Regions from separate parts of the Homo sapiens genome. Here regions 1, 2, 3, 4, 6 and 7 are each linked to region 5. Evidence: promoter capture Hi-C in 16 types of primary human blood cells and fetal thymus (Javierre and others, 2016). All regions are on one chromosome and are shown on one strand. The core of a region is centred on a gene start or on the middle of the fragment in contact, and the rest is flanking DNA. Distances in the headings are between cores, read along the strand shown. Region 1 overlaps XIST (X inactive specific transcript). Region 2 overlaps RLIM (ring finger protein, LIM domain interacting). Region 3 has its middle 35 kb from the start of JPX. Region 4 has its middle 9.7 kb from the start of XIST. Region 5 holds the start of FTX (FTX transcript, XIST regulator). Region 6 overlaps JPX (JPX transcript, XIST activator). Region 7 has its middle 47 kb from the start of RLIM.

The links. Contacts are between HindIII fragments. The CHiCAGO score rates a contact against its expected background, and 5 or more counts as called.
Region 1: a fragment that was not itself captured here is called in contact with the fragment with the promoter of FTX in region 5 in 1 of 17 cell types (M2 macrophages); the score reaches 5.8 in M2 macrophages.
Region 2: a contact is called between a fragment that was not itself captured here and the fragment with the promoter of FTX in region 5, in 1 of 17 cell types (neutrophils). The highest score is 6.0, in neutrophils.
Region 3: a fragment that was not itself captured here is called in contact with the fragment with the promoter of FTX in region 5 in 1 of 17 cell types (neutrophils); the score reaches 5.5 in neutrophils.
Region 4: a contact is called between a fragment that was not itself captured here and the fragment with the promoter of FTX in region 5, in 2 of 17 cell types (neutrophils and activated CD4 T cells). The highest score is 5.9, in neutrophils.
Region 6: a contact is called between a fragment that was not itself captured here and the fragment with the promoter of FTX in region 5, in 7 of 17 cell types (naive CD8 T cells, total CD8 T cells, naive CD4 T cells and 4 more). The highest score is 12.6, in naive CD8 T cells.
Region 7: a fragment that was not itself captured here is called in contact with the fragment with the promoter of FTX in region 5 in 3 of 17 cell types (monocytes, M2 macrophages and M0 macrophages); the score reaches 9.8 in monocytes.

Annotation. Positions count from the first base shown.
Region 1 is chrX:73,838,980-73,842,591 of GRCh38, reverse strand. XIST (X inactive specific transcript) reads left to right here. Exons shown (of 6, transcript NR_001564.3): 1 at 1-1,210. Among named protein-coding and RNA genes, the nearest start is that of XIST, 12 kb to the left of the region's middle. The HindIII fragment of the contact is 250 bases long and covers 1,843-2,092 here.
Region 2 is chrX:74,585,062-74,588,855 of GRCh38, reverse strand. It overlaps RLIM (ring finger protein, LIM domain interacting), which reads left to right. Exons shown (of 4, transcript NM_016120.4): 4 at 1-3,794. Among named protein-coding and RNA genes, the nearest start is that of RLIM, 28 kb to the left of the region's middle. The HindIII fragment of the contact is 3,039 bases long and covers 1-2,857 here.
Region 3 is chrX:73,907,419-73,911,163 of GRCh38, reverse strand. No RefSeq gene overlaps it. Among named protein-coding and RNA genes, the nearest start is that of JPX, 35 kb to the left of the region's middle. The HindIII fragment of the contact is 9,060 bases long and covers 1-3,745 here.
Region 4 is chrX:73,860,672-73,864,144 of GRCh38, reverse strand. No RefSeq gene overlaps it. Among named protein-coding and RNA genes, the nearest start is that of XIST, 9.7 kb to the right of the region's middle. RefSeq lists an enhancer at 1-515. The HindIII fragment of the contact is 3,050 bases long and covers 554-3,473 here.
Region 5 is chrX:74,292,296-74,296,027 of GRCh38, reverse strand. FTX (FTX transcript, XIST regulator) reads left to right here and starts at 2,454. Exons shown (of 7, transcript NR_028379.1): 1 at 2,454-2,676. It overlaps LOC124905199 (a long non-coding RNA gene), which reads left to right and starts at 3,432. Exons shown (of 2, transcript XR_007068266.1): 1 at 3,432-3,732. RefSeq lists an enhancer at 3,200-3,732. The HindIII fragment of the contact is 8,135 bases long and covers 1-3,359 here.
Region 6 is chrX:73,976,690-73,980,545 of GRCh38, reverse strand. The region is part of intron 2 of JPX (JPX transcript, XIST activator); the gene reads right to left. Among named protein-coding and RNA genes, the nearest start is that of JPX, 34 kb to the right of the region's middle. RefSeq lists an enhancer at 2,397-2,956. The HindIII fragment of the contact is 1,950 bases long and covers 663-2,612 here.
Region 7 is chrX:74,565,419-74,568,976 of GRCh38, reverse strand. No RefSeq gene overlaps it. Among named protein-coding and RNA genes, the nearest start is that of RLIM, 47 kb to the left of the region's middle. RefSeq lists an enhancer at 163-1,143. The HindIII fragment of the contact is 1,397 bases long and covers 1,455-2,851 here.

The DNA of each region.
Region 1 (3,612 bases), core at 718-3,217, 450 kb after region 5:
CAAGATCTCCCTACCACTTTGGTGTGTTGGTGCAGTGTTGACTATGAAAAGCAGGCCTGAACTAGGTGGATAAGCCTTCACTCATTTTCTTTCATTTATTAATGATCCTAGTTTCAATTATTGTCAGATTCTGGGGACAAGAACCATTCTTGCCCACCTGTGTTACTGCTTTACTGTGCAAAATACTGAAGGCAAGTCAGACCCAGGGAGCTGGATTGCCATCCTTTATTTTGTGTTTCCAGTGTACACTATAAAATTGTCTCCCCAGGAAGGAAGGTTGGCACTTTCTCTGCATTCTTCTTTCCAGAGCAGATTGCCTGGTTAAGAATCTCTTGTTGTCCCCTTTGTATATTGTTATTGTAAAGTGCCAAATGCCAGGATACAGCCAGAAAAATTGCTTATTATTATTAAAAAAATTTTTTTAAGAAAGACATCTGGATTGTAGGGTGGACTCGATAACCTGGTCATTATTTTTTTGAAGCCAAAATATCCATTTATACTATGTACCTGGTGACCAGTGTCTCTCATTTTAACTGAGGGTGGTGGGTCTGTGGATAGAACACTGACTCTTGCTATTTTAATATCAAAGATATTCTAGAGTGGAACTCTTAAGACCAGTATCTTTGTGTGGGCTTTACCAGCATTCACTTTTAGAAAAACTACCTAAATTTTATAATCCTTTAATTTCTTCATCTGGAGCACCTGCCCCTACTTATTTCAAGAAGATTGCAGTAAAACGATTAAATGAGGGAACATATGCAGAGGTGCTTTTAAAAAGCATATGCCACCTTTTTTATTAATTATTATATAAAATGAAGCATTTAATTATAGTAATAATTTGAAGTAGTTTGAAGTACCACACTGAGGTGAGGACTTAAAAATGATAAGACGAGTTCCCTATTTTATAAGAAAAATAAGCCAAAATTAAATATTCTTTTGGATATAAATTTCAACAGTGAGATAGCTGCCTAGTGGAAATGAATAATATCCCAGCCACTAGTGTACAGGGTGTTTTGTGGCACAGGATTATGTAATATGGAACTGCTCAAGCAAATAACTAGTCATCACAACAGCAGTTCTTTGTAATAACTGAAAAAGAATATTGTTTCTCGGAGAAGGATGTCAAAAGATCGGCCCAGCTCAGGGAGCAGTTTGCCCTACTAGCTCCTCGGACAGCTGTAAAGAAGAGTCTCTGGCTCTTTAGAATACTGTAAGTACTACTTCGTAGCTATTAAGTAATCTTTTTCCTATTCTATTTTCTTTCTCTTAGATGCCACCTATAGAAAAGTCAGAGGGTCCAGTAAGTTTCTTTCCTTCTTCCCACCTCATCTGCAATATATATATATAGAGAGAGAAATAGATACATACATACATGCATAAATACACATATGTGAGTTAACCAGCAGAACTGTAGAATTAATATTGTGGACCCAGCTCTATGCTAGGTTACACTGATAACCTGGGTAGGAATGATATCATCCTATATAATTTCATTCCTGAGATGATTTTATCGTTGAGGAGCTAATGTGAGCACATTTGAAATAACTTTAGAAAATAATAAGTGCTGTTTTGTGTGAATCATAAGTAGTAGTTTTAGGAAGGGAACCCACAAGGATTTGAAGTTGATAGAATAAACTTAAGGAAGTGGGTTTGCTTTTTCTCTTTAAGCCAAGATAGGATTAATATTGCAGCCATCTGGATAGTCCAGTTGGTTTATTTTAATTTCATTTGTTTTTTACCTCTTTTGGAGCCATGGAAAGAGATGAAAGGGATAGAGCATAGCCATTGTGTTTGGCTATTTGCGAAGGTTGGCAAATTAGTGATTGCTAAATCTCATAAGCTTGAGTATTTTAAAGTTCAGAGATTGAGGGCATAAATCTAATACTTCGGCTCCTTCCACAATTTTACTACATTTCTGCCCAAGAACAGATGACCATGGATAATGCATATCGTAGATACTTTTTAAGTTTGGAACCTTTTTGCCAAGAGGGTAGTGGAGAAGTGAAGTCAAAACCTTGACCTTCCTTGCCTACTTTATGCTGTAGTTTATATACCTTCTTTCCTCCCACCTTTCGTAAAGCTAAAAGAAGCTTAGCCTCCTTAATGTTTTCCAGCTGACAAAATATTGTTTAACATAACATTCGAAACTTTTTTTCTGGTGCACATTCATGCATCACAGCAGGAGCAACAAGAACCATATAAGTGAACTGGCTTCACTTATAGCCCGTTTTAATTCATATCCATATTTCCTCAGGGCTTGTTTCCATGCCTCCCAGCCCCACTCCATATGCTTAACAACATTGTCTGGCTGACTGAGGGTTATATACATCATGGTCTTGAACCTTCTTGGAAACATGGTCTGTGCCATTGTTTCTCAAACCCAAGTAATGCTTCATGATGAAACACCTTCTAAAGGAACAAAATTTTCTGAGATCCTAAAAAAATGTGTTTTGAGGAACACTGACTTAACAAAGATATTTGAAATGTAAATATGTTTTCCAATTTCACGTTGTCTTTGTCAAAGATGTGTTTTATATAACTTATGTAGAACTTGGGGATCCATTAGAATATATTCACAAATCCCCAGGGTTATCACCCCAATTTGAGAAACCCTGGTCTATGCTTATGAAATCTTCTATTGGTAATTAAATTGTCATTCATTGTCAACATACAATTATAATTATTATTGGAATTTGTTTTAAATGAATGAATTTGGAGGTGATTCTGTACCTTAAGTCAAGAGGAAGGATGGCTTGATTTTAGGTGGATTGATTATACTAGATAGCATCCAAAGGTGAATCTTGAAGCTGTATTTAAATTCATTGCTTGAAATAATTTCCACCCTTAAGAAAAATCTCTAGCAATTGTAAAAAGGGATGCTCTGGAAATGTGGGCATCTTCAAAATAGAGATAATTCTTGTGTTAGTTCAACAAATATTATTGTACCAGGTGCTGGAATAAATAGCAAAACCAAAGACAGGATTTATATCAAGGAATTTGCTTTCTTATGGAGGATGCAGAAGGAAATCATTATGGTTTTGGGCAGAAATGCTTAGACTTTAGTCCTGGCTCTGAGTTTGGTTCAGATCACCATCAATCTGACCATCTCGAGACTGCTAGTGAAATAAGATAGGGGCTTATATCAAATACCTAAATCCCTGAAAATGACATTTTGTGATTTGGAAAATTTTCAAAAGTCTAATGAAGGAAACTTTTTTGGCATTTCTTTAAATGATTATTGTCATTTCTTTTCTGACTTTTCCCTTTATAAAACCTTAACATGTAGGATTGGAGGAAGTTTTCTGACCATTTTCTCATATCCTCTTTCAGCTTTATCTTTCTGTAACTTCCATTTCTCTAGCCACCTCCCTAAATTACAGAAGACTGTGAGACCCAGGGCTGCTGTGATTAGGCATTCATAATTTCTTTTCAGGGTGTTTGTGCCCTGATTATCAAATGTACAGCTTGAAGGGAGTTCATGTCTTAAAGTAATGAATTAAGAGTTGACCTTTGTTGACTGCTAAAATATTCTTATATGTGAAAGCATCCTGGAAAAATACGTTACCAGCTTAAAGAGAAAGAAACTAATGATTATATCTGAACTGAGCTAAT
Region 2 (3,794 bases), core at 89-2,588, 290 kb before region 5:
AGACAAGGTCATTCGTAGGTGTCAGATTACAATGGAGAACAAAAATCGTTTTCCCCCCACCCACATCCAAACACCATTCTCGAGGGAGCATTTCTTGCAAAACACCTTACATTTCATTTTCTATCTTTGCACTTTTTCTTAAGTACAGAAAAGTTGTCTTTAAGACCTAGTTTGAACTTCATGCAGTAAGAGGAACAAGGATAAACAATGTTGGGAGTTCACATTGTTCAGAGCATAAGGAAAAGTACCAAAACCCAAATTTTCTTGAATATTTCAGATGTTTTTAAAAACTCACTTCTAGTCTGAAACATTTGAATTGTTTTAACTCTGAGCAGCTGACAAAGTTGAGGTTTTTTTGTTTTGTTTTGTTTTGTTTTGTTTTTTTGAGACAGAGTCTTACTTGGTTGCCCAGGATGAAGTGCAATGGAGCGATCTCGGCTCACTGCAACCTCTGCCTCCTGGGTTCAAGCAATTCTCCTGTCTCAGCCTCTCGAGTAGCTGGGATTACAGGCGCATGCCACCACACCTGGCTAGTTTTTATATTTTTAGTAGAGATGGGGACTTCACCGTGTTGGCCAGGCTGGTCTTGAACTCCTGACCTCAAGTGATGTGCCTGCCTCGGCCTCCGAAAATGCTGGGATTACAGGCGTGAGCCACCATGTCCAGCCAAAGTTGAGGTTTATTAGTACTATTAGAAACAAAATTGAGCAAGTTAAGTTAAAAGTTTGCTGACTTTGTATCAACACTATAGAAGATGAGCCACCTTGTTAATTTGGAATATTTGCTCTGAAAAGAACATGTTAGTTACACCTTAATGGTGTTAATGGAGGTGGGGATTGAGAAAAGTGTTCACATTAGTGTTGGAATGTAGGTAATTGTACAGTTTATAAGACCTTTAGCACCAGGAAATAAAATATGTGTGTGTACACACACAGTTTTTAAAAACGATTGGAATTCATCCAAACCTTAAGATTAGGAAACTGATTGGCTGTAAGTGTTGCCTCAAGTAATGTGTCCCCCGCCCCATAACATGTCTTTTCTGTGCCAAGTATCCTCTCCTAGTGTCAGTGTCTCAAATTATATTTATGAAGGGTTATCACATAATATGCTTTGTATTTAACTACCTGCTTCCCAGGCGTCCATGACATGAAATGGGTGAAGCATCAGCCATGACTTTCGGTCAGTTCCCAAAATACCCAAATGATAGGGAGGTAAAGATTGCAAAATTCCTCTTAAAAGGCCATTTTTACAGCTTGCTAAAATACAGTGGCACCTTATGGTTGTTAATATTTTTTCTTTTAAAGATGGAGAATGTTTTTATTCTTCCCCTTTTCTCCTTTGTTCTTTTGCGAACAAAAAAAATTATAATCTGCCTTATTTGATTTTTTTTTTAAGTTTTACCTTACAGGCTTCCCTGTCACATGTTTTACCATATTAAGTACATAGAAGCCATGTTTGCAGGGCACTTTTATTCTCCTAGTCTTATAAGACTATGCTAATTGTTACTTTCTGAAGTATTCTGTACCTTAGTATGCAAGATTGTTAAGGCACATGTTAAAGTGTCAGGTGTGTTTTTTTCCCTTTAATTCTTCAGTATGTTTATATTCAATAACAGTATTGTAATTCATTGAGTTAACTAGTAAATTGTGTGCTTTTGAAAAAACATGAAAAATGTAAATTGACAGCATACTTCATTTGGAAAAAAGTAAAAGATCCGAGGAACTAGTATGTCACTTATTTATTTTTATTTTATTTTATTTTTTACTTTTTGAGACAGGGTCTTGCTCTGTCACCCAGGCTGGAGTGCAGTGGCATGGTCACAGCTCACTGCAGCCTTGACTTCCTGGGCTCAGGTGATTCTCCCACCTCAGCCTTCCAAGTAGCTGGGACTACAGGCATGCACCACATTGCCTGGCTAATTTTTTGTGGAGATGGGGTTTCGCCATGTTGTCCAGGCTGTTCTTGAACTCCTGGGCTCAGGCAATTTGCCTGCCTCATTCTCCCAAAGTGCTGGGATTATAGGCGTGAGCCACTGCGCCCAGCCTTACTTATTTTTAAATCAGATTTTTTAATCAACTAAAACAGCTATGAGTTAAGTACCTGCCCTGCAAAAATTTTTAGAAAAAGTTTTAGGATTATGAAATTAAGAATTATTTTCCTTAACTGGAACAGTTCTAAAATTTATCTGATACTTCTCTAACAAGTGAGTGATCTCATGTAACCCCAGTTTGTATCTTAAAGGCTGCAGCATAGAATTGAGCTGTATAACAGTGTTAGAACTGTCAAGTGATAATCACAGAACAGTTTGTATCGGTTTTATAATTCTCATGTCTTGATCAGATCTGAAGGAAATAGGCATACCCTCCAACATTCTAAAAATTATTTATTTTTATTAGGATTTGTTTATTAAAGTTCCACGAGCTGCTTTATGGTCAGTTGGGCTGAGTAGTAGATATCTTAAAGACATGCAGTGAAAGTGAACCCTGTCATATCATGGTGCCTCTTTCAAGGTTCCTCTGTAAGTTCCTCATCTTGCAGAATTATTTCAATACCAAGGTATGGTTGAACCAGCTGTCCAGCCTTAACTCTATTTAGTGCCCCATTACTAATGTTCTTTTAACTGGTTTGTATGTGTTTTAACTGTCCAGTGTTTGGATTTTACCTCTTGATAGCTCCATTTGTCCCTGGTGCTGCTTTTAAGGATGTAGGGCCATGTGATCAGGTATCAAGTTGAGTAGGTACGCAGTTGGCCTGGTGATGTATCTGTGCCTGTTTTATCTTCTCCCAGGAAGAGCTGCTTTGGTATAGTTGTTTACTTGGATTCATACAAAGAACAGGGCAGCAATCTTGGAAAGCTTTCTGAAGCTTATAAGAACCTGAAGGGGTTTGGAGGGGGAACAGTAACAAAGGCTGCCTTTATGTCTTTGGTCACAAAGCACATAGATGTATGTTCTGTAAAGACTAAAGTGATTGTTATACCAGGGCTTCCTGACCTTCGGGAGAGACTCAAAAAAGCAGAGAGGAGCACAAAGTGAAGTTAATTTGGTTGGCTTGCTTTATCTGGTTTCTCATTTTCTTTCAATTTAAACCTGAACATAACACCCTTCTCCGATACCTATCCAGCAGACTCCTGGTTGGGAAGCCCTGTATTAAATTTTGAGAATGTACACAGTTTTCTTTTGTACAGTGCTTTACAACTGCTAAAAGTTAACTTGTTTAAAGCAAAACAAGACCTTGAAAGGTCAATCATATTAAAGCTGGTTTGATTATTAATAGTTATCTTTTAGGAAGAAGCTTTTTTCCCTATGTAAGATGTCATACTGCAGATTTAAAATATAGACTATCAATAAAATGCATGAAGTGATCATTTGTGCTTGATCATCTCTCCTTGGGTTTTTCTTTAAAAAGGGGAATCTGCTATAAAGGTTCTGTTGCTTCAAACCAATGTCAAATAGACTTGATTTTTAGAGTCATGGAATTACAGTGCAACCTTGATTTTTATTCCCCTCACTGCTATGAGTGTGGGCAGGTACTGGTTTATATGTTATAACTTCCGTTTTATCTGTGTTGTGTAGTTGAATGGCTTAATCGTTGAGTGGTAAAATAAAAGATTATATTCCAATACAAGAATCCTGGAAAGATTTATGTGAATGACATTTTAAGTAGGCGCATCTTTGCTGTTTCTTGTATTCTCGCCATTGCTCTGACCACTCCCTTGCTTGCCCTGTATATATACAAAAACTTGTAGGTGTGCACGTGTGCTTGTACTTCTGTCTTCCATTTCTATCTTAATC
Region 3 (3,745 bases), core at 675-3,174, 380 kb after region 5:
TCCCAGCTACTCGGGAGGCTAAGGCAAGAGAATTGCTTGAACCTGGGAGGCAGAGGTTGCGGTGAGCCGAGATCACGCCATTGCACTCCAGCATGGACAACAACAGTGAAACTCTGTCTCAAAAGAGAAAAAGAGAGAGAGAAAAAAAGATAGCATGTTAATATCTCTAGCCAGGCACAGTGGCTCATGCCTACAATCCCAGCACTTTGGGAAGCTAAGGTGGGTGGATTGCTTGAGCCCAGGAGTTTGAGACCAGCCTGAGCAACATGGTGAAGTCCCATCTCTACAAAAATTACAAAAATTAGCTAGGCAGGGTGGCGTGCACTTGTAGTCCCAGCTACTTGAGAGGCTGAAGTGGGAAGATGGCTTGAGCCCAGGAGGTTGAGGCTGCAATGAGCCGTGATTGTGCCACTGCACTCCAGTCTGAGTGAAAGAGTAAGACCCTGTCTCAAAAACAAAGAAAAGTCCCCCCCACCCAAAAAAAACCCACCCAATATCATTCTCTAGCATGGTAACAGCTAAATTCCCATAAATGTGTGTATATGCATGCATGTGTGTAGGGTAGTGTTTGGGTACTAAATTTTAACATTTTCTGTCACAAGTAGATGTCAGAGGAAGAGTCATTAAATAAAAAATATATCCTGCTTTTCAATGAAATGCATTATTGTCTTTTAGTGAGCCTGTCACTTTGACCGAAATACCATTTTTCTGAAACTCATACAATTTGTATTTCTGGTAAGAAATAAGATGGGAAAAAAGCTGAATAAAATTCATTTCTTTATTAAAGAGTGTCTGCTCTGTGCCAAGCACTGGGACTGGAGCCAATGACATATTCATGTAAGAATAAGCTATAGCCTCTGCTCTCAAAGATACAGCACTGTAAGCATCCTAGTAGTCAAAATGCTAGAAGAGTTGAGAGAAAGGAACAATCACGTATGATGTGGTTATCAGAGACTGCTAAAAGGAGGAAGTAAGACTTGAATTGGTCTTTTGATTGAAATGGAAGGGATTACATTTGATTGAAATGGAAGGGATTACATTGCATGTAAAAGCATAGACGTGAATCTGACAAAGACATAACAAAAGAAGAAAACTACAGGCCAATATCCCCAATAAACACAGATGCAAAAATCCTCAAAAAACACTACCAAACCAAATCAAAAAGTTAATTCACCATGATCAAGTGGGCTTTATTCCTTGGATGCAAGAATGGTTCAGCATATGCAAATTAACAAATGTGCTTCACCACATAAACAAAATTTAAAACGAAAACCATATGATCCTTTCAACAGACACAGAAAAAGCATTTGATAAAATTCAACATTCCTTAATAATAAAAACCCTCAACAAACCAGTCATTAAAAGACCGTATCTCAAAATAATAGGAGCCATCTATGACAAACCCACAGCCAACATCATGCTGAATAGGCAAAAGTTGGAAGCATTACCTCTAAGAACTGGAACAAGACAAGGATGCACACTCTTGCCACACCTATTCAACATAGTACTATAAGTCCTAGCCAGAGGAATCAGGCAAGAGAAAGAAATAAAAGGTGTCAGCCAGGCGTGGTGGCTCACGCCTGTAATCCCAGCACTTTGGGAGGCCGAGGCGGGTGGATCAAGAGGTCAGGAGATGGAGACCATCCTAGCTAACACAGTGAAACCCCGCCTCTACTAAAAATACAAAAAATTAGCTGGGTGTGGTGGCAGGTGCCTGTTGTCCCAGCTACTCGGGAGACTGAGACAGGAGAATGGCATAAACCCGGGAGGTGGAGCTTGCAGTGAGCAGAGATCATGCCACTGCACTCTAGCCTGGGAGACAGCCAGACTCTGTCTCAGCAAAAAAAAAAAAAAAGAAAAGAAATAAAAGGTGTCTAAATAAAAAAAGAGGAAGTCAAATTCAAATTATCTCTTTGCTAATGATATAATTCTATACCTAGAAAATCCTAAATATTCCCCCCAAAAACTCCTAGGCCTGATAAATGACTTCTGTAAAGTCTCAGGATACAAAATCAATGTACAAAAATCTATAGCATTTCTATATACCAATAATGTTTAAGCTCAGAAACAAATCAAGAATGCAATCCCATTTACAATAGGCACACACACATATACAACAATACATAGGAATACACCTAACGAAGGCAGTGAAAGATCTCCATGAGAAGAACTACAAAACACTGCTGAAAATAATCACAGACAGCACAGACAATTGGAAAAGTATTCCATGCTCATGGGTTGGAGGAATTAGTATCATTGAAATGTCCATATTGCCCAAGGCAATATAGAGATTCAACACTATTCCTATCAAATAGCCAATGTCGTTTTTACAGAATCAGGAAAAACCTATTCTAAAATTCATATGGAACCAAAAAAGAGCTGGAATAGCCAAGCCAATTCTATGAAAAAGAATAAAGCCGGAGGGAGGCGGAGCTTGCAGTGAGCCGAGATCGTGCCACTGCCCTTCAGCCTGGGCGACAGAGTGAGACTCCGTCTCACACAAAAAAAATAAATAAATAAAATAAAAAGAATAAAGCTGGAGGGATCACACTACCCAACTTCAAACAATACTACAAGTAACCAAAAACAAATGGTACTGGTACGAAAATAGACACATGGACCAATAGAACATAATAGAGAACCCGGAAATAAAGTCACATAGCTACAACCAACTGATCTTTGACAAACTCAACATGTATAAACAATGGGGAAAGGACACCCTATTCAATAAATGGTGTTGGAAAAACTGGGTAGCCATATGCAGAAGATTGAAACTGGACCCCTATCTATCAGCATGTATGAAAATTAGCTCAAGATAGATTAAATACTTCAATATAAGATCTAAAATTATAAAAATCCTGGAAGAAAACCTAGGAAATACTCTCTTTGATATTGGTCTAGGCAAAAAAAAAAAAAAAATTATCACTAGGTTCTTAAAAACAAATGCAATAAAACCAAAAATTGAACAAGTGGGACCTAATTAAACTAAAGAGCTTCTGCACAGCAAAATAAATTACCAACAGAGTAAACAGAAAAAATGGGATAAAATATTTACAAACTATGATTCTGGCAAAGGACTAATATCCAGGATCTATAAGAAACTTAAATCAACAAGTAAAAGACAACCCCATTAAAATGTGGGCAAAAAACATGAACAGACCCTTCTCAAAAGAATACATTCAAGTGGCCAGCAAACATATTAAAAAAAGTTCAGGCCAGGCGCGGTGGCTCATGCCTGTAATCCCAGAACTTTGGGAGGCCAAGGTGGGCGAATCACGAGGTCAAGAGATCCAGTCCATCCTGGCCGACATGGTGAAACCCCATCACTACTAAAAATACAAAAATTAACAGGGTGTAGTGGCTCATGCCTGTAGTCTCTGCTACTCGGGAGACTGAGGCAGGAGAATCACTTGAACCCAGGAGGCAAAGGTTGCAGTGAGCCAAGATCGCACCACTGCACTCCAGCCTGGTGACAGGGCAAGACTCGGTCTAAAAAAGAAAAAACAACAAAGTTCAACATCACTAATCATCAGAGAGATACAAATCAAAATGACAATGAAATACCAGCTCACACAAATCAGAATGGCTATTAATTATTAAAAAGTAAAAAGGTTGTAGAGAAAGGGAGTGCTTATACACTGTTGGTGGGGATGTAAATTAGTTTAGCCACTGTGGAAAGTATTTTGGAGATTTCTCCAAGTAGAAAAAAATAGGACTACCATTCGAGCCAGCAATCCATTAATGA
Region 4 (3,473 bases), core at 829-3,328, 430 kb after region 5:
ACAGGGGCTGGGCAGGTGCTGGGATGATCCTGGAGCCTGAGTCCACAAGCACTGGCTTGGCACTGGGGCTGGCCTGGACCCTGAGTCCATAGTGCAGGTCTGGGTCCTGGGCCCACAGGGCCTGGCCTGGATCCTATGTCTGCAGATATAGTCTTGAAGCCTCAGTCCATGGGATCTAGCCCGCCATTGGCGTCTACTACAGTGGGCCTTGACCCTGCGTCTGCTGGAACAAGCCTGGATCTTGTGTTTTCTGGAGCCTGTTTCCACTGGGATCAACCTAGGCTAACCTGGTGCTAGGGCTGGTGTAAAGCCTGGGTTCACAGGGTCTAGTCTGAAGCCTAGGTCTATGGGAACTGACTTTGTGCCTGGAGATCCTGGGGCTGGTCTTAAGCACGGGGCTGTCAGGCTCAGCCTAGAGCTCATGTCCACTTGTCCCAGCCTGGAGGCTGGGTGTGTAGGTGCTGGCCTAGAGGCTAAGACTGTGAGGGCTGGCCTGGGTTTGGATGACTTGAGGGTTCCTGTGACCTGAGTACACTGGGGCAATCTTTAAGCTTGTGTCTGTAGTGGCAAATCCAGCACAGGGGTCTACTGGGACAGGCCTGGACCCTGGGTCTGCTGAAGCTATGAAGCCACAGGGTCCAGCTAGAGTGTGAGGTCATGGGGACTGGCCTGGTGCTGGGCAGGCCTGGAGCCTGTGTCTGTGGGTGCCTGCCTGGTGTTTAAGTCCAGCATTGCTGACATGGTGCTGGAGCAAGCCTGAAACCTGGCACCACAGGGGCTGGCCTGGAGATGGGTTTGTGGGTGTCAGCCTAATGACTAGAGTTGCAGGGAACAGCTGATTGCTGGGGTAGAACTGAAGATTGGGACTGTGGGGGCTGGCCTAGTGGTGAGCTGGTCTGGAGCCTGGGGCTGTTGGGGTTGGCCTGGCTCACTGAGGTTTTTTTAATGTGTAGATTAATGTGTCTTATCAAATTTGGGAAGTTTTTTTAACCATTATTTCTCCCTTTTTTTTAATGCTAGTTCACTCTATCCCCTCCTGAAACTTCCATAATGTGTGTGTTGGCATCTTGATGGTGTTCCATAGGTCCCTCACATTCTCTTCATTTCTCTTAATTATTTGTATTTGTGCCCCTTAGACTGAATAATTTCAATTGACCTATTCAAGTTGTTTCTTTCTATTGGCTGCTCAAATTTTCTGTTGAATGCCTGGAATGAATTTTTTTGTTTCAGTTATTGTATTTTCAGCTCCAGAATTTCTATTTGGTTCCTTTTTATAAGTGCTATTTCTAATGTATAATTTCTGTTTGTTGAGACATTATTCTCTCTGTGTTTTTTAGTTCTTTGTCTATTGTTTCTTTTATGTCTTTGAGCATATTTGAAATATTTAATTTAAACTCCTTGTCTAGTGGAGTGAGGTCAGCATGATGTCAGAGTAGGAGATTCAGCCTTCCTCTCCCTGTGAAGAACAATTCTGCAACTATCCATGAACCAAAATATCTCTGGAAGAGGCTAGGATCCACTTAAGGTGACACAACAATACAGTAGAAGAGAAAACCCAAGAAGAGCCACACAAAAATGGTAATAAGAACAAGTTCATTTCACCTCCATCACTGCATCCTTCATGCTGACACTGCTCAGCATGGAGAGGGACCTCCCTAGCTTAAGTTTGCCTTGCAAGACAAAGCAGAGCAAGGTATAGAACCAGTTTTGCCAGTATTTTAGGACACTGCCTATATGACTAGCTTCAGTTTCACCCCACCCAGATCTCTGGGGGTAACCTGCATAGCTGAGATATCTGGAGACAGCTGAGAACAAAGACAAGGGATGAGGGTTTTTTTTTTTTTTTTTTTTTTTTTTTGAGACGGAGTCTTGGTCTATCGCCTAGGCTGGAGTGCAATGGCGTCATCTCGGCTCACTGCAACCTCCACCTCCTAGGTTCAAGCGATTCTCCTGCCTCAGCCTCCTGAGTAGCTGGGATTACAGGTGCCCACCACCATGCCTGGCTAATTTGTGTATTTTTGGTAGAGACAGGGTTTCACCATGTTGGCCAGGCTGGTCTCGAACGCCTGACCTCAGGTGATCCACCCGCCTCGGCCTCCCAAAGTGCTGGGATTACAGGGGTGAGCCACCGCGCCTGGCCTGGATGAGCTCTTTTAGAATCAGCCAAAAGGTGGAAGTTACTGTGACCCCCAGTGGCCTACCTGACATGGGAAAGCAGCAGACTTCTCCACTGAGGACCCAAACAGCCCCTGGAGCTGCTGTGTAGACCCCACAGCCTTAACTGCTGAGGATTCCTCAGTGTTTGAAATTGTGGAGCCCAGCAGCTTGTCCTGCAGAGGAACATAGCAGCTTTTACTACTGAGAAAAACAAATGCCAGCACACCAGCAATAACCCCCCTGCCACTTTTGCTACTGAAGGCCTTGCAGTTTTCTTCACCTTCATAGTCTTAGGTGCTGGCGTTACCTCCCCTCCCCATTCCCAGGAGCCATGTAGGGCAGGATTGCTATTGCTGCAGTTTCCTCAGCCTGGTGACACAACCCAGGAGCCTTGAAGTCTTTAGGTGCCTAACCAACCACCCTCCTCCCCAAAGCCACCTGAACTGCTTCTGTTGTGGTTGTCCCAGCCCAGGGTACTACTGCAGTGGCCTTCATATACCGCAGGTGCCTAAGACAACCATCCTTTCCAAAGCCACCCCTGATGTTGCTTACATGGGTGCTCTGGCCCAGAGGCCCAGTGCAGCTGTTGCACCTGTGCCTGCAAAGAGCCCCAAAGCCCCTCACCTCAGAAATTGACCCCACATACACTCAAGGCTGATCTCTGCAGGACTACTGCATGCTGCCAGCCCTGGTTCCTGTAGTGGTGCATGCATAAGCCACTGGTCCTGCCCCATGGGTCCTGCATTTATCACCATGCTGCACATGCCTACCCACCTCCAGTTGAGCCCTGCAGTTGCCACACACACACAAACACACACATGCAGACAGCCTGACCCCTGTTGCCACCATGCATCTGGCCCTTGTGATCAGGCATGGGCAACCTGCAGCACCTACCACCACATCTATGCTCACATTCAGGCCCAGCTTCGGCATATGACCCAAGCTCTTGCTACCATGTGTGAGACTACAACAGGCTGCTGCTGCAACCAGACTCCACAGTGGAGCATGTGTACACTTTCAGCTCTGGCCTCCACTGCTGCCAGTCCCAGACCCTAGCTGTTTGTCACATATACATAGCTGAGGACCCCAACAGCCCTCATAATCTTTGCGAAACTCCCACAGCTCTTGACACAAAGGACCATGCAGTTGCCAATGTTGTAGGCATGCCTGAGCTGACTAGACTCGGCCCCTATCTGCCGCCACACCACCAGACCCAGAGCCACACTATGCCCCTGCATTTGGTTTCCTATGGTCTAGACCCAGTGCCACAGTGCACCTAGTATGTCTCCCTTTTTCCTCCTTAGGTAAAGGGCTTT
Region 5 (3,732 bases), core at 1,205-3,704:
CGAGTAGCTGGGATTACAGGTGCCCGCCACCACGCCCAGCTAATTTTTGCATGTTTAGTAGAGACGGGGTTTCACCATGTTGGCCAGGCTGGTCTTGAACTCCTGACCTTAACTGATCTGCCTGCCTTGGCTTCCCAAAGTACTGGGATTACAGGTGCGAGCCACTGTGCTTGGCCCCCACCTCTTTTTTTTTTTTTTTTTAAATAGAGACAGGGTATTGCTATGTTGCCAAGGCTGGTTTCGAACTTGTGGTCTCAGGCAATCTTCCTGCATTGGCCTCCCAAAGTGCTGGGATTACAGGCATGAGCCACCACGCCCAGCCAAAACATTATATATTTGAACAAAAATCATAAGAGAACACAAAGATGCTTGCTATGGTTTGAATATGTCTCTCAAAGTTCATATGTTGGAAATTTGATGCCCCATGTGGTGGTGTTGGGAGGTGAGGCTTAAAGGGAGGTGTTTGAGTCATGGGGGCACCACTCTTATGAATAGCTTAATGCTATTATTGAGGGAGTGGGTTTGTTATTTCAGTAGTGGGTTCCTTATTAAAGGATGAGTTCTGGCCCCCTCTTGCGCGCACTCTCTCTTTCTCTATCTCTTTGCCCTTCCACCATGGGATGATGTAGCAGGAAAGCCACTGTCAGATGCCAGCTCCTCAGTCTTGGACTTCCCATTCTCCAGAACTGTGAGGAAATAAATTTCTGTTCTTTATAAATTGCCGAGTCTGCAGTATTTTGTTACAGTGGTACATAATGGACTAAGACAATACTAATGGGTATGAAGTTTCTTTTTGGGGTGATGAAAATATTCTAAAATTGATTGTAGTGGTGGCTGCATAATTCTGTGAATATACTAAAATCCATTGCATTGTACACTTTAAGTTGGTTAACTGTATGATATGTAAATTATATATTAATAAAACCATTAAAACAGAAAAATAACAGAGATAAGAGCATTTGTTAAAATAGTGTTGTAGAATTTGGGGTAAAATTTCTTATATTTTAACTTTTGTGTAATAATAAATGATTATTTTAATTTAGAAGAGGTTCTTTGTACCACTGAGATTTCGGCATTTCTTTTTTATTTAATGCATGCCTATTTCTCTTTTTTCTTCTTCATATGCACATTGTTGTATAATTTTTTGGGCGTATTATATAACAAATGCAAACCCATTTTTCTCTGAATAATGTTGATATAACATTCTTAAGTTAATTTGAGAGGATGGTGATGTATAAGTTTATGAGTTTTAGGATTTATGAATTTGCGGGTCTCAGTTTTTGGTATTTCCAAACTGGCTCTTTTAGAAAGCAATAAGAACCAGACACCAAAGTAAAACATAATAAAGAGAAACAAAATATTATTTTGTATTCTTTCTAGTTCACACCCAAAGAGGGATCTATTTCAGAGCCTCTTAAGTAAATAATGCCATTTCCCTCAAAATTAATATTTGAGTTCTTACAGAAGACAAGAACAGGCCTTGTAGTAAGCAGTGAAGGACATTGAATCTCATTTTTAATGTCCAGACAATACCAGGGTTGTGAATAGAAAGAAAAGAGCTTTCCATGTTGGTGGTCTACTGCCTCTTACCCCCAAATTGATTGAACACTTTTGCAGTTTTTGTTCTGGTTCCCTGTCTCTGGATCTTCCCTGTGGGTCATCATCAAAAAGGTGTTCTCTTTGCCCAAGACAGGCTGGTTGAGCTCACCCTGAGAGCTGCTTTGGAGAGGATGTGTGGAAATATTTTTTTTCTTTTTTTGAGATGGGGTCTCACTCTGTTGCCCAGGCTGGCAACATCATAGCTGGCACAATCATAGCTCACTGTAGCCTCGACTTCCTGGGCTCGAGTGATTCTTCCACCTCAGCCTTCTGAATAGCTGGGAGTACAGGTGCGCACCACCACGCCCGGCTAATTTTTGTATTTATTTGTAGAGACGGGGTTTCGCCATGTCACCCGAGCTGGTCTCGAACTCCTGAACTCAAGGGTTCCGTCCACCTCGGCCTCCCAAAGTGCTGGGATTACAGGTGTGAGCCACCGCGCCCGGGCTACAATTATTTAAAAAAAAATTTTTGCGGTAATTTTTACAAATTTCAACATCAGGCATAGGAGGAGAGGAGTAAGAGGCCCAAGAGGGCTGCAGACTGGCAGGGAAAGTGAAGAATTGAAGGGTAGACCACTAACGATAGCAGAGGAAATAAAGGTAGATGGTGGGCTAAGAATAATGGGAGAGGGATTGACGAAAGAAGTATGGGCTGAGGGAGGGATGATGGTGGAGGCCAGTGTGACCGAGGGGAGGGGAAAGGTGGAAGAAGCAGAGTGGGATAGCGTCCTGGGAAAGAAGTGAAGGAGGTCGGTGGACCGCTAAGGGTTAGACTCCTAGAGGCTGGAGAGCGGCGCGTGGGGGAGGCGGGGCGCGGAGGGGGGGTTAAGGGGCGTTAGCAGCGCATGCGCTGGAAGCACACTGCGGCGATTCTGGAGAGGTTGTCCTTTTCTGGCATCAGCGTTGCGGCTCGAGGCAAAGCTGGTCCTGTGCCTGCTGTCCATTGCCGCTAAGGCCTGCTGCTGCCATTCAGGCGTGTCTCTCTCTCTCTCTCTCTTTCATGCCGCTCTCTCCACCCCATCTTGGGACGGCCAGCTCTAAGAATTCCTGCTACGACACTGAATTCAACCAGGAGGTAAAGGAACGATGTAGGGGAAGAACAGAACATGGAGGGCGGCGGAGGGAACTTGGGCCAGGAAGATCCTTAATTTGTGCATTTTTCCAGTTCACGGGAGGAAAAAATGGAATACGTTACAGGCCCCAGTTTTCCAAAAGGATGTTGAGCATTTGCTTCCCATTGTGAAAGGAATGCGGGTTCCTTTCCTCTAACTAGAGTCAAGGCACCTGAGCATCGGTGTTTTCCATAATGTTCCCTGTTTAAAACATTTGTGGTTCGTCATTTGTAGCAGATGTATTTAAAGGGCGAGGCCTTAGGATTATGTTCATCCGATGGTTTGTGAAAGTTTTCCTTGCCTTTGTTCAGGTTGACCGGTCTTATGTGAATCCTGGGGTACTCTAGCCCCCTCCCTTGGAGTTGGGACCGATTCCATCTAGATCTGGGATTCACTCTGATCACCTGCAACGCCTTCTTTCCCCGATTCAACTTCCCTAGTTTATCGCATCTACTCGCATTAGGGAAGGCTGGTAATGGCTCTCCTTGGGCACTGGGGCAGAATTGTGGCGAGAAACACGTCCAGATAGCATCAGGCATGCATACTGTATACAAATGGGAGCAAGAAGAGAGAGGACTATCGCGGTGCGCAGGGTATTTGAGAGGCTGGATGAGGAGGCGCGGCGCCGAGGGGCGGCGCTCAAGCTTACAGTATTTGAGAAGACCTGAGTTAAGGGGACGGGCTCCAGTGGGGCGGGGGTGGGGAGAGGGAGGCACGCATGCGCAAGGCTTGAATGGCGTCGGGGTTGGAGGGTTGGAAGGTCGGGAAGTGAAGGACTCGCAGGCATATTTAACAACGCAAAGTTGCTAGGAGTTGGTACCAGCGTTTGGGAGGTAGAGGTGGCGCTCATGCATATTTGAGACAACATCTGGATGGTTGGGGAGAACGGTAAGGAGGAAGCGGCGCGCATGCGTATTTCAGACGGAGTGCCGGGGAGGGGAGGCGCTCAGCATTCGGGTAATTAAGGTTGCAAAATGGCGAGGGGGGAGGTAAGCTGTCTTTGCTTGGCCATCTTGGGC
Region 6 (3,856 bases), core at 388-2,887, 310 kb after region 5:
GCAGTAAGCTGAGATCATGCCACTGCACTCCAGCCTGGGCGACAGAGCAAGACTCCGTCTCAAAAAAAATAATAAAATAAATAAATAAATAAAAAATAGATTGAAACAGAACAAACAGCACCTCAGGACCTATGGAACAATATCACAATATCTAATATACATGTCATCATAGTCTCAGAATGAGAAAAAAAAATCATGCAGAAAAAAAGTTTGTAGAAATAACAGCCAAAAACTTCCCAATCTGATAAAAGATAAATCTACATATTAAACAACTTCAGCAAAACCAAACAATATAAACTGAAAAGACACACCCAGAAATACTATAAACTGTTGAAAATCAAAGACAAAGGAAAAAATTTGAAAGCAGCTATTAAAAAAACAGCACATTACATCTGAGGAAGCAATGATTCAAACGACGGCAAATTTTTTATCAGAAACGATGAAGGACAGTAGTAGAAAAATAACTTTAAAGAGCAACAAGAAAAAAATCCCATCAATTAACAATTCTATATCCAGTGATTGAAAATGTCTTTCAGGAATGAAGGTGAAATGAACACATTCCTAGATGAAGGGAAATTAAGACAATTCACCTCAAGCAGAGTGCTGATTAAATGATAAAGGGAGTTCTTTAGTCTGAAGGGAAATGATACCCAGGGAAAGCTTAGATCTTTAAAAATGAGAGAACAAAGAACTGGTTTAAAAAAAAAAAAAAGAAGTGGTAAATTACTGAGTAAATATAAAAGACTATTTTTCTCCTCTTAAGTTCTTTAAAATATGTATGACTCCTGAAAGCAGAAACACAATGCAAATGTAAAACACATGGCAACTACTTAAAGAATCAGTGAGGGAGTATAAAGAGCTTTATATGGATGTAAGGCTTCTATGTTTTACCTGAAGTGGTAAAACACTGAATCTACATAAACTGTTAGATATGTATTTATGAGACAATTCGAATGTATAAAAGATAATTAAGACCGGGCACGGTGGCTCATGCCTATAATCCCAGCACTTTGGGAGGCCGAGGCAGGCAGATTACCTGAGGTCAGGAGTTCGAGACTACCCTGGCCAACATAGCAAAACCCTGCCTCTACTGAAAATACAAAAATTAGCTGGGCGTGATGGCATGCACCTGTAGTTAGTCTCAGCTACTCATGAGCCTGAGGCAGAAGAAGTGCTTGAACCCAGGAGGCGGGGGTTGCAGTGAGCTGAGATTGTGCCATTTGCACTCCAGCCTGAGCAACAGAGCGAGACTCTGTCTCAAAATAAATAAATAAATAAAGATAATTAAAATGGAATATTAAAGCCTGGGCGCGGTGGCTCACGCCTGTAATCCCAGCACTTTGGGAGGCCAAGGCAGGTGGATCACCTGAGGTCAGGAGTTCAAAACAAGCCTGACCAACATGGTGAAACCCCGTCTCTACTGAACATAAAAATAATGAGCCAGGCATAGTGGCGGGCACCTGTAACCCCAGCTACTTGGGAGTCTGAGGCAGGAGAATCGCTTGAACCCGGGAGGCGGAGGTTGCAGTGAGCTGGGATCACACCACTGCATTCCAGCCTGGGCGACAAGAGCGAAACTCCATCTCAAAAAAAAATAAATAAATAAAATAAAATACTAAAAAATGTTCAAATGATACAGAAGAAAAAATAAGAAACAGAAATAAACAAAAATAACAAAGACAACAAATCTCAAATATATAGGGCACTAGAAACAACATCACTACCTCACTTAGAAAAGGCTTGACAAAAGCAAAGTTATGATTTTCTTGACCCTATCAGAGAACTGAAGTTACAGGAAAAAAAAAAATACAGAAATCTAAAAAAATGGTAGGTGCCTGCAGGGGAAAACAGAATCTGAGCATTTGATTACTGGGACAAATGCCATGAAAATCAATATAAAAGCAGGTAGAAAGATTTAACTAGAAATTACAATAAATTGCTAAAGGCCAAGTGTGGGCTGGCCTGAGAATAGGAATCCCCTCAGGTTTCAAATATGGGGGTGGGGTTGCAGCCACCTGCAGCTGTTATCAATAGGAAGCCACAGGAAAGATCAGAGATCACAGAGAAAGACCCCTTTGGTACTATCTGGGGGAAAGGAGTAGCAGCTATGGCTGAAAATCTGCCCCAATCTACCTTTCTTAAAAAAAAAAAAAGTTTCGCTCTTGTTGCCCAGGCTGGAGTGCAATGGCGCGATCTCGGCTCACCGCAACCTCCACCTCCCGGGTTCAAGTGACTCTCCTGCCTCAGCCTTCTGAGTAGCTGGGATTACAGGCATGCACCACCACACCCAGCTAATTTTGTATTTTAAGTAGAGACAGGGTTTCTCCATGTTGGTCAGGCTGGTCTCAAACTCCTGACCTCAGGTGATCCGCCCGCCTCGGCCTCCCAAAGTGATGGGATTACAGGCGTGAACCACCACGCCCCACCAAAAAAAGTTCTTCATTTACAGAAAAGATCATGAAGCAGTGGAAGGGAATATAAAGCAGACCAAAATTCCCCAGAGGCCCGTCTCCTATCTCGCCTAAGAAGCAAAAACCTTAGAGCAATTTGCAGGGACACCCTGGAGTGGAAGCAACAGGGGCTGGGTAAGGAGGTAAGGAACACATAAAGCTTTAGCCATAGGGGAGGAATGGGAATAAATACTAGGCATTGACTGGAAAAGAAAGACTTATGACAGCCACACCCACAAGACCCAGATTCACAGTGCCTACTTAAGACTGAGTTTAAATTAGAACATTAGAGAACATGCCTCTTTTTCGCCCCAACCACAGACTAAACATCAAATAAAATTAAAGTAATGCACAGGGGAAAGCTGAAAACCACAGGCCTTCTCTAGAGAAGAGTGAAAAGGTGAAAACCCACGCCAAACAAGGACACAAAAACAAGGTATCATTATAGGGTTTGAAGTTTCTGATACACAGAGAGTAACCATGGTAACAACAAAACTTCAATCCCAGACCAACTCCTGACTAATTTCACAAAAACCTCCACGCTAATAGCCTAGATGAAGGAAAGGTGTGCTTATCGCAAAGAAAATACATATATATACCTCAGTATCTACTACTTTATATGTTTGACTCTCAACATTATAATGTATACAAAAACAAAGAAAAAAATACCATCTGAAAAGAATGCAATCTTGAAAACCAGACTTAAATATGAGATGCCAAAACTAACAGAAAATGAAAAGTAACTGTAATACCTTGTGTCCTTCTTACTCCCATTTGTTAGTTCTAGGTTTCTGGAGATGCTCTAAAAACGTCTATGTAGACAATCTTATAATCTACAAATAAAGATTTATTTTTTCCCTTCCAGTCTATATTTCCTTTTCTTGTATTAGGAGTGGTGAGAGAGGACATCTTTGCATTGTTCCCGATCTGAGCAGTATGTCCAGTCTCTCACCATTAATAAGTGGAGTCTGTAAGACTAAATGCAAAAGAAGCTATACATAAGCATTATACTCCAGTTGATAGAGTTGTTTCCAGTAAGGGTAAAAATCAACAATTCTGAAACAGTTATACCTGTATAATGGGATAGTACAATTATGTAAATGAATGGTAAATGTTAGGAGACAGGCTCTTTCCTATTGGAGTGAGAGAGTGAGGACAGACAAACAAGGAGATATGACTAGAATTAACCATGTGGTAATGGATTAGTTAGAAATACCAGTATGAACTCACATTTAACTTAAAAAAATCGATAGTTACATATAAAAATGTGTATAAATATGTAGCTATACATGGGTTAGTATACATATCTATCTATACTTCCTCTGAGAAGAGTTGGCTGTAGAATACAAACCTATAGGCTGGGTGCGGTGGCTCACACCTGTAATCCCAGCACTTTGGAAGGCTGA
Region 7 (3,558 bases), core at 904-3,403, 270 kb before region 5:
GAAGTGAGGAGCCCCTCCACCCAGCAGCCGCCCCGTCTGAGAAGTGAGGAGCGTCTCCACCCGGCTGCCCTATCTGAGAAGTGAGGAGACCCTCTGCCTGGCAACCGCCCCGTCTGAGAAGTGAGGAGCCCCTCCGCCCAGCAGCCACCCCGTCTGGGAAGTGAGGATCGTCTCTGCCCGGCAGCCACCCCGTCCGGGAGGGAGGTGGGGGTCAGCCCCCGCCAGGCCAGCCGCCCCGTCCGGGAGGGAGGTGAGGGGGTCAGCCCCCCGCCCGGCCAGCCGCCCGGTCCGGGAGAGAGGTGGGGGGGTCAGCCCCCCTCCCGGCCAGCCGCCCCGTCCGGGAGGTGAGGGGCGCCTCTGCCTGGCCGCCCCTACTGGGAAGTGAGGAGCTCCTCTGCCCGGCCAGCCGCCCCGTCCGGGAGGGAGGTGGGGGGGGTCAGCCCCTCGCCCGGCCAGCCACCCCGTCCGGGAGGTGAGGGGCGCCTCTGCCCGGCCGCCACTACTGGGAAGTGAGGAGCCCCTCTGCCCGGCCACCACCCCGTCTGGGAGGTGTACCCAACAGCTCATTGAGAACGGGCCATGATGACAGTGGCAGTTTTGTGGAATAGAAAGGGGGGAAAGGTGGGGAAAAGATTGAGAAATGGGATGGTTGCCGGGTCTGTGTAGAAAGAAGTAGACATGGGAGACTTTTCATTTTGTTCTGTACTAAGAAAAATTCTTCTGCCTTGGGATCCTGTTGATCTGTGACCTTACCCCCAACCCTGTGCTCTCTGAAACATGTGCTGTGTCCACTCAGGGTTAAATGGATTAAGGGCGGTGCAAGATGTGCTTTGTTAAACAGATGCTTGAAGGCAGCACGCTCGTTAAGAGTCATCACCACTCCCTAATCTCAAGTACCCAGGGACACAAACACTGCGGAAGGCCTCAGGGTCCTCTGCCTAGGAAAACCAGAGACCTTTGTTCACTTGTTTATCTGCTGACCTTCCCTCCACTATTGTCCTATGACCCTGCCAAATCCCCCTCTGCGAGAAACACCCAAGAATGATCAATAAAAAAAATAAAAATAAAAATAAAAATAAAAAAAATAAAAAAAATAAAAAAAAAAACAAAAAAAAAAAACAAATTGCTTTGCAAAACAAAAGTTTTTACTTTTGGTGAAGTCCAGTTTATTATTTTTACTGTGAATTGTGCTTTTGGTGTCATGTCTAAGAAACTCTGCTCCAAGCTCTAGGTCCTGAAGATTTTCTCCTGTTTTCTTTTAAAAGTGTTGTAGTTTTACATTTTACATTTAAGTCTATGATCCATTTTGAATTTATTTTTGTGTCTTTTTGCCTATGGATAGCCAATTACTCCAGCACCATTTGTTGAAAAGTTTATCATTTCTCAATCAAATTGATTTTGCACATTTGTGAAACATCAGTTGGTCATAATTGTGTGCCATACTATGTCAAGCTTCTCTATTCTATTCCATTGTTCTATATATCTATTCCTCTACTAATACCACACAGTCTTAATTACTATAACAATAATAATTCTTAAAATCAGATGGAGCTGGGCACAGTGTTGAATGCCTGTGATCCCAGCTATTTGGGAGGCTGAGGCAAGAGGATCCCTTGAGCCCAGGAGTTCAAGGCCAACCTGGGCAACATGGCAAGACTTTGTCTCTAAAAAGAAAAAAAAAATCAGATGGATTGATTCCTCCCACTTTATTCTTCTGCAAAATCAATGTAACTATTCTAGTATTGTTACCTTTCCATATAAATTTTAGAATAATCTCATTTATGCTTACCAAAAAAATATAATGCTAGTATTTTGATAGCGTATGTCAGTTTTTTCCAAATTGATATCTTTGTTGAGTCTTCCAGTCTATGAACACAGAATATCTTTCCAGTTATTTATGTCTTCCTTGATTTCTTTCATCAGTATTTTGAAATTTTCAGCAGAGATCCACTGTACATTTTGTTAAGTGTGCATCTAAGTATTTCATTTTCGTTGTAGTGATTAGAAATGCTGTTGCATTTTCAACTTCAGTTTCTGCATATTCATTGATAGTTTATAGAAATATGATTGATTTTTGTATGTTGGTGTGTTGATATTGTATACTGAGGCTGAACTTATTAGTTCTGTAAGGTTTTGTTATATTTCTGGGCATTTTCTATATAGACCATCATGTCACTGCCAAATAGTTTTATTTACTCCTTTCCAATCTATATACAACTTATTTATATTCCTTGCCTTCTTGTTTTGGCTAGAACTTCCAATACTGTGTAAATAAGAGTGGTGAGAGTGGATTTGTATTTGTAGATGCTCTTTATCATGTTGAAGTAGTCCCCCTTCATTCCTAACTTGCTGCAAGTTGTTTGGTTGTTGTTTTTTTTAAATCATGAATAGGTGTTGGATTTGGTCAAATGCTTCTTCTGCACCAATTGGTAGGATCATATAATTGAAAAAAGATCATAGGATTCTTAATTTGTTGATATGGCTTATTACATTGAGTGAGCTTCAAATATTAAGCCAGCCTTGCATATTTATAATAAATTCCAATTGGTCATGGTGTGTAATTCTTTTTATACATTATTGGATTTGGTTTGCTAATATTTTCTGAAGAATTTTACATCTGTATTCATAAGGTATATTGGTCTATGGTCCTTTCTTTTTTTGTACTGTCTTTGTTTGGTTTTAGTATCAAGGTAATACTGACCTCATAAAATCAGTTGGGAAGTGATTTCCTACTTTTATGTTTTCTGGAAGGGATTATATAAAATTGCCGTTAATTCTTCTTTGAACATTTGATTAAATTTTCTGATGACTGAATGACTGGCTCCACATAGGTTTTTCTTTTGGAGAAGCTTCCTTTTCAGGGAACTTTTTAAATTTTATTTTTAACTTATGAGGGAATATATTAGATCTATGTATTTGTGGGGTACACAAGATATTTTGATACAGCCATGCAATACATAATAATCACATCATGGAAAATGGGGTATCCATGCTCTCAAGCATTTATCCTTGTGTTTCAAACAATCCAGTCATACTCTTTTAGTCCTTGTAAAATGTACAATTAAATTATTTTGACAATAGTAACCCCGTTGTGTTGTACTATCAAATACTAGGTCTTATTCATACTTTCTGGTTTTTTTTTTTTTTTGTACTCATTAAACATCCCCACTACCCTTCCCAGTCTCTGATAACCACGCTTTTACTCTCTATCTCCATGACTTCGATTGTTTTGATTTTTGGATCCCACAAATATGTTAGAACATGAGATGTTTGTCTTATGTGCCTGGCTTATTTAACTTAACATAATGATCTCCAGTTCCATCCATATTGTTGCAAATGACTAGATTTCATTGTTTTAAGGCTGAATAGTGCTCCATTCTGTATATATACCACATTTCTTTATTCATTCATGTGTTGATGGACACTTAGGTTGCTTCCAAATCTAAGCTATTGTGAACAGTACTGCAACAAATATGGGCATGTAGATATCTCTTCAATACACTGATTTCTTTTCTTTTGGGTAAATTCCCAGCAGTGGGATTGCTGGATCATACGGTA